Linked DNA regions of Homo sapiens: region 2 is linked to region 1. Evidence: promoter capture Hi-C in 16 types of primary human blood cells and fetal thymus (Javierre and others, 2016). All regions are on one chromosome and are shown on one strand. The core of a region is centred on a gene start or on the middle of the fragment in contact, and the rest is flanking DNA. Distances in the headings are between cores, read along the strand shown.

What was found. Contacts are between HindIII fragments. The CHiCAGO score rates a contact against its expected background, and 5 or more counts as called.
Region 2: a fragment that was not itself captured here is called in contact with the fragment with the promoter of KCNG1 in region 1 in 8 of 17 cell types (endothelial precursors, M2 macrophages, naive B cells and 5 more); the score reaches 8.6 in endothelial precursors.

What each region holds. Positions count from the first base shown.
Region 1 is chr20:51,021,002-51,024,852 of GRCh38, forward strand. It overlaps KCNG1 (potassium voltage-gated channel modifier subfamily G member 1), which reads right to left and starts at 2,106. Exons shown (of 3, transcript NM_002237.4): 1 at 1,869-2,106. RefSeq lists an enhancer at 1-310 and a silencer at 2,035-2,204. The HindIII fragment of the contact is 2,899 bases long and covers 1-2,842 here.
Region 2 is chr20:51,281,889-51,285,739 of GRCh38, forward strand. No RefSeq gene overlaps it. Among named protein-coding and RNA genes, the nearest start is that of MIR3194, 170 kb to the right of the region's middle. The HindIII fragment of the contact is 5,646 bases long and covers 1-3,851 here.

The DNA.
Region 1 (3,851 bases), core at 856-3,355:
ACATCTCCCTCCCAGAGGCCAAAAAGGCAACCCAGAGTTTGGCAAAACTAGGGGTTTGGTTGATTTTTTTACTCCCAAGGTTTGACAACCCAGGCTGTAGGCTGCGGGCCTGGGCTCTCAAGTCTCAGGAGAAGAACCTAGGTTGCCTCGTTTCCAGTGTGCTTGCAGTTCCCTGCAGGTTAGGAGTGTGTCCCAGGACAGACATCTTTCCCGTGGAACGGGCTGGCTTCGAGAATGACTGAGGAGGGTGATCCCCAGGGGCCAGCGCTTGCCTGTTTTTCAAACACACCTTCCCTCCTTCCCCTCCTATCAGGCGACTCTGCAGGGCTCCAAAAGCCGGGGGAGGCACAAATAGAGCTCAGGTCTGGCAGAGCCTGAAAAATCCCCCAAAGAAGGACAGCATGCCCTAGCCACAGTGCCGACCGCAAGGCCCCAATCAGCAGTGCCAAACTTTTCTTGGAGATGTGCTGCCGGTGAGGCTCTTCATAGGGACTCTGCCATCATGGGTATGGGGGTATCAAACACACACTAATGAATAAACCTCTGCTCAGATTCATAGGGCAGGAACTTCCCCCACCCCACAATGAATCAGACCAGTTCCTGCTCCCTCCTCTTACTTCCCCCTGTACTTATCTCAGGGAGTCAGCAAAGGGGGTGGGGGCGTCTGTGTCTGTCTCCCTCTTCTATGTGTCTGTCATTTACCTGGGTAACTTTGGTGCCTGGCACCCTTTAAGTGCTTAATAACAGCGAGTGCTTAAGAAAATGCCTGCTGAATGGACAACCTAACTCATAAACCCCATTGGTGGGAACCTGCATTCCTCAGTAATGTCGGATCAGTGTTTCTCAACTCCTCCCCACCCTACCCCATCACCCGCCCCTAAGGAGCTTTGAAAAGATCTTTTCTTCCTATTCTAGAACCAATTCCAGCTTCCACACCTCCCACCTTGAGAAGGAATGCATTAGATGAACCAAGACTTCTGCCTATATACATGGGCTGCTACAGTTGGCCACCCCGGCAGTCTGCGGCCTCCCAAGCGGGGGCCTGGGTCTTAATCCTTACTTCTCTCTAAGCTGCATGAAGGGTGCCCCCATTCCATCCCTCTTCACTTCTCCCCAGCATAGCGCCTCCATAAATGTTTGTGAACTGGATGAATGACTGTTGAGCGCTTGGTATGATGAGCTGCTTACAATAGGTGCTCAACCAATCTTTGTCCAATCTATGAATGAATGAATGAACTTCACCCTTTTCCTTCCATACCTCCGGGCTGAGCCTCTCTCCCACATGGAAACCCTAAGGCTGAGACCACCACCTTCCTACCAGTTCCTGGGGGTGCCCAGTGAACTGTCTCAGTATCCCCAGTGCCTAGCACACAGTAGGCGCTCAATAAACGCTTGCTGTGTTCATAATGAATGACTCAATCAGGCCCACGGTGGGGGTGAAGGGGGGCTCCATACTGTGCCTAAGGATACAGTGAATGAGCAAGTGACACACACTCCCCCACCCCAATCCCTAACTCTCCTTCCTCCCAGGATCGGGGGAGAAACCTCGGCCCACAGCCGGGATGCGCCCCCGCCGGGGTCACCGCGGCGGCGAACGTCCCGGACTTCGCATCCCGGTGACCCCTTGGGATGAACCGAAGCCGGACCCGCACCTTGGCCGTAACAAGCGCGCTCCACGCCGCCACGCACCAGCGGTGACTCCCGAGTCCTCTGTCGCCCTGGCCTCCCCGCAGGCGGGTTTCGAGGCCCCCGCAGGGAGTTCAGGGCCACGGCCACGTGCAGCCGCCCCCGAGCCCGAGTTTGCAGGCTCGGGGTCCGGTTCGCGCTTCGGTGGCGCCCGGCGAGGCTGCAGCGCGCAAAGTTCCCACCTCAAGTTCCCGTCGCGGCGTCCCCGCCTCGGAGTTGGCCCGGCCGCGGCTTCCGTTCCCCCCGGCTGCCCACGGGTCCGGGGCGAGGACGCGAGAGGGGCCTGGAAGTCGCCCGGGGAGCCCGCTCTGCCTCCCGGAGCCGCCGCCAAACTTCGGTCCCGGGGCCCGGCTCAGCTCCCGCCCTCGGAGCCACGGCCGCCCCGTCTCTGCCTCCCGGTCCCCGCCGGGCTCCGAGTGCGCCGGGAGCGCGGCGCAGCAGCCGCCGAGGGAGGGAGCGAGGCAGGAGGCGGGACGGAGGGAGGGGACTGAGCGCGGGGCGGGGAGAAGGGGCGGGCAGCCGAAAGCGCAGCGCCTGGCCTCGCCTCGCTTCGGGACAGTGGCAGCGGCGCCACCGTCACGGGGCGTCCAGGCGCCCAATCGGGACCCCGCACCTTGGATCCGGGGGCCCTGGCGCGCCTGCTGGATTGCGCTCCTCGCGGCCAGTTCCTGAGCCCGCGTCCGGGACTGCTCGCGCTACGCCCTCCCTCCCGTTGCCTTCTTCCCCGTCTGCTCTCCCAGGAGCGACCACCCTGCGGCCCCTTCGCCTGCACGCGACAGCCTTCAAGGTCCCCGCGCTCCGCTGCCCTGGAGCTTCACGCACCAGGCGGCGCGGCAGCCTCCTAGGGTCGCGCGCCCTGTCAGCTTTCCCCGCGGTGCAAGTGCTCCGGTGGTCCCGGGTCCGCGCCCCTAGCAGCACCGCCCCAGGGTCTACATGTGCTAGATATTAAAACCCCACTCTCCGCTGCCCCGGGGCCGCGCTCCACGCGCTTACACATCCTGGGAACCACATGCGCCATGTCTCCTGCCTTTCCCTGGAAGTCCTGGAAGTCCAAGTGCACTGCTGCCTCTGGGTCCCTCGCCCCCCTACCCCGGGCAAATACTGCATCCTTGAGGCCCTCCACGCGCTGCTGCCCTGGAGCCGAACGCTCCAAGCAAGCTTCCACATCCTGGGGGCCATATATCGCGCGCCTTTTCTCGACCTCCTAGACCAATGTTGCCCTTGGGCCCTTCCTGCCACCGCCACCCAGGGACTGCCAGCATCTTGCTGTGCCAAATTCCTAGGGCCAGTACGTACCGTGCCAGGTGTTTTCCCTTCCAGTCCCGCGGGGCCGAGGCCCCAGAGCCCTCCCGGGCTAGCAGAGCCGCACTTCGTCGTCCACTCCCCTGGCCGGTGCAGGGCACTTGGACCAGGTCCTGGGGTCTTGCTCCCAGTGTGGCCGCCTAGCCTCGGAGTTGGTAGGATGCTGCACAGATGCTGGAGGTTGGGTTGGAGGGATCTATTGGGTTGGAGGAATCTACTGAGTTGGAGGGACCTATTGGTTTGGAGGGATCTGTGCTGCTGGCAGGGCTGGCCTCTTAGGGTGGCTTGCCTTGCACTCCGTTCCTCTTCTCCTTTCTGTCTCTTGCACTCCGTTCCTCTTCTCCTTTCTGTCTCTTGCACTCCGTTCCTCTTTTCCTTTCTGTCTCTACTGCCTTTGCCTATCATCAGAGAACCAAGAAAGGACATGAAGAAACCCTGCTGCCGACCAGCCTGAGGCCTTCTGCTTGAGTGGGGCTCGGGTTGGGGAGTCGTGGGTGCTCATTAAGTGGGTTAGGGTTAACCCTAAGAAATGAGCGCAGGGCACACTAGCCTGCGCGGCAGTCCCAGCCGGGTGGAGCATAGGAGTTCCAGGTTATAGTGCACTATGATGGCACCACTGCAATCCAGCCTGCGTGACTGAGCGAGATCCAGCCTCTAAAACAACAAGAATAAAAACACTGGCTTACTGGTGAGGTGGAGGCCTGGACAGACAAGGATCTGCCTAAGGACCTGTTTCCAAGAGCTCACCTTCTACTGGGGGCTTGGCAGAATTGGGAAACTGCTGAAATACGTGATTGCAGAATGAAGCCAGAGAGGCCACTTTAGATAGAATAATGGGGGAGGGCTCCTGTGGAGGTGATGGT
Region 2 (3,851 bases), core at 476-2,975, 260 kb after region 1:
TCTGGAGAACGCTGACAAATAAGCATTGGATTAAAAAAAAATTTTTTGAGACAGAGTCTCACTCTGTTGCCCAGGCTGAAGTACAGTGATGTGATCTCAGCTCACTGCAACCTCTGCCTCTTGGGTTCTAACAATTCTCATGCCTCAGCCTCCCAAGTAGCTGGGATTACAGGTGTGGGCCACCACACCCAGCTAATTTTTGCATTTTTAGTAGAGATGAGATTTCACCATGTTGACCAGGCTGGTCTCAAACTCTGGGCCTCAAGTGATCCTCCCACACCTGCCTTCCCCAAGTGCTGGGATTATAGGCGTGAGCCACCCACTGCACCTGACCCCCAGGATTAAATTTTAAAAGAGTTTTGAAATACAACAAGGTCCATCTTTTGCTGGGGTTGGTACAATAAGGTGGCATGGCAGGTGTGGTGAGCTGGCATACACCATCCATTTCACCTTCATCCTAGCCGGTCTTCCCATCTGTAGAGGCAAGAAAGTGACCAACTACATGTCCCAGAGCCTCTTGCTGCTGGGCCTCAAGATGTTATTGAGGTTGGGCCAGTCAGATACACACAAATGAGATTTGCTCCTCCTTTCAGGAAGTTTTCTGTGTTCTATTTTAATATTAAGTTTCTATGACCTTAGCACATGTTCATGGAAGTGTCTGTTGGACAGACTATAAGGGTATTAGTTTCAAAAGTTAGTCTGTACATTTGATGCATATTCAATGTGTATGCAGACAGGGCGTGGTGGCTCACCCTGGTAATCCCAGCATTTTGGGAGGTTGAGACAGGAGGATCACTCTAACCAGGAGTTTGAGACCAACCTGGGCAACATAGTGGGACCCCCTCACACACCCCAACCCCATCTGGTCAAAAAATAAATAAAAATTAGCCAGGCACAGTGGCATGCACCTGTAGTCCCAGCTACATGGGAAGCTGAGGCAAGAGGATCACTTGAGCCTGGGAGGTTGAGGCTATGGTGAGTCATGATCATGTCACTGCACTCCAGCCTAGGCAACAGAGTGAGACCCTGTCTCAAAAATGAATGAATGAACGAATGTATATACAGATATATTTCCATTGACTAATGACCAGAAACTCTTACTCTAACAAAAACTTTGCTCAAGCCACTGAATTATGCACAGTGCAAAACAAAACAAAACAAAAAAACTGTGTTTGGCTACATACAGCAGAAGCCTGACTAATAGTGGCTTAAACAAATAGATGTATGTTGGAGTTGGGGACAGATTTGTTGTTTCACATAAGATGTCCAGAGGTGGGCAATACTGGTTTTAATTCAGCTGCTCGAATAGGATGTGAGGAACCTAGGCATTTTCTTTTTTATGTCTTTCTACTTTGCCTTCTTTAGCATTTTAGCTTTTTGCCTCATGATCACAAAATGGCTCCTGTAGCTCCAGACCTCACAACTATGCTCAAAGCAAGAAGGAGAAAAGAAGAAAAGGCAGCCTTAGCATAGCTACATTTTCCATTACAAGGGCAAAGCCTTTCCCAGAAGGCCCCACAGCAGACTTCCCCTTGGTCTTCTTGGTCAGAAGTAAGTCATGGGACCACCCCTAACTGCAAAGGATTCTGAGAAATTTAGGGGGCATGATTGTCACAACTGGCTTAAGTTAATCACAACCTATTTTGGGGGTGGGGGATGGCTAAGCACATTGTCTCCCTGACAAAGTGAGGGTACTGTTAGCAAGGACGGAGGGAGAATGATTACAGGGCAGACAATGAACCTTGCCTGCCATACCAGCAAACATTTCTGATCACCTCTTGGGAGTCAAACACTGTGTTAGGCTTTCTAAGGGATTCAAAAAAGTATAAGAAACATTCACCACCTTCAAGTCCTCCAGTCAAGGAGGTGGTTTTATCAGGACTGTCTCCCGTGCAAGGGGATAGAAACTCTACTCAAACTGACCTAAGAAGAAAGGCGTTTATAGGTTCATGTAAATGAAAAACCAGGGTGCATTTGGCTTCAGGCATGGCTGGATCCAGGTATTTATACGATTTCAAAAAATAAAAAAATAAAGATTCATCTCTGGGCTCTGCCTTCCTTTCTGCTAGCTTGGTTTTTAGGCAAGCTCTTCTCATCGAGTGACAAGGACGCTGTCCACAATTCTAGACCTACATCCCACAAGCTCAGTAGCAATAGGCACAGCTCAGGTTGTACAGCTCAGGTGGTACCTTCAGTTCTGATGGGCTGGGCCTGAGTTCTGCATTCACCAGGACCTAAGGGTGGGGTCAGCCCCACCCAAACCCCATAGACTGAGAGTGGTTGCCTACCTGCAGGGAAACTGCAATTCTGTTCTAGCAAAAAAGGAGGGATAAACACTGGGTGGGGGAAAAAATGTGATTTCTCTACAGAAGAGAATTTAAAGAGGTGAGAAAGTCCTAGTGATTCATCAACAAACGATTAGTCCCAGGAGGTTTCAGCTGTCCTTCCTGCAGCTGACAGACTCTGCTTGGTGACACACACACTAGGCTAGATGTGTGTTGAGAACATCCTTGTTTCCATGCTTCTTCTGCTCTGGGTTTGGCCAGAGAGGTCCCAAGGTCTCATTGCCCCATTTGCATAGAATGTCAACATGACTAAGCACACATCAGTGATGGTGATTTTACAGTTATATTAGGTATAAAAGCTGGCCCAAAGCAGCACAAGCAATGAAAATTCAACAGCCTCAAAATCTCATGATCAGGGATGTCGGTAAAGTGAGCTCAGCTCTGGAGTTTGATCTCGTGTGGGGTGCTTGGTAATGGGTGATAATTGCAGCTTGCTGCTTTCTTCTTCACCTAAGTTAGAATCAGGTACCTTCTGCCCAGATCTTGCAGCTACTGTTGAGTGGCCCTTGCCAAGAGACGTAGAGGTCTATGCCTATTTCCTCATCTGTAAACCTGGGATACCTGTAACAATAGGTTTTATTTCCCAGGGTTAAAATCTCAGGGTGCTGTAGGGAGGATTCAATTAGAATATGCATGTTCACCCCTTAGCCCAGTGCCCGACCCTGAGGGAGCTTCTCATCTCTGCTGTTGGGAGGACGAGGAGTTGCATGTTCTGCCACGAAAGTGCGTTGTATTCACGCAGGCACTACTTACAAGGCTTTACATACATCAGCTCATCTAACCCAGCCCAGCTGGTACTGTCATCCCTATTGTTCAGATGAATTAACTGGCTTTGCAAAGGCCACACAGTTTGCTCAAGGCTGCATAGATCTGTCATAGCAGAGCCGGGACTGGAGCCCAGCCTTCCAATGGCAACTACCAGGGCCAGCCCCAGGGGGAGGCAAGTGAGGCACCAGCCCCACCTGCAAAATGTAAGGGGGCCTAAAAGCCCAGTCATCAAGATAAATTATATTTGAATGCACTATTTTAAAAAATCAAAATTAATGCAAAAAGGATCCATGGCAAATATCCATGAGGCAAAATATTATGTTTGCAAATGAAAACAGGATTATTCTGGCTGATTTTTTCTTTTGCTCAGACTGTCATAGGGGGCCTGGCCTGGTGCTGGGACTGCATTCCCAGTGCTGGCTGCATTCGCAAGCAGGTGCCCCTTCAGGTGGCAGAGGTGACCCCTGAAGCCTCTTCCAACAAGCTCAGCGGAGAGGACGCCTCCCCTCTGAAAGGCAAGCAGAGCTGCGGAGGTACTCCTCACTGGATCATATGCAGGGACAGTTGGGAAGGATGGCACCTCCCAAAATGTTGAGGTGCTGTTTCAATTATAAAAAGAGGACTGAGTGTTAAATATGCAAACGGCACAGACTCTACTGCAAGTGGGCAGTGGCTAATCTTAAGGACCCTCGCTCCAGTGGTGGAGGGCCAGGCTTGGGACAGAGCCCGACTTTGGCC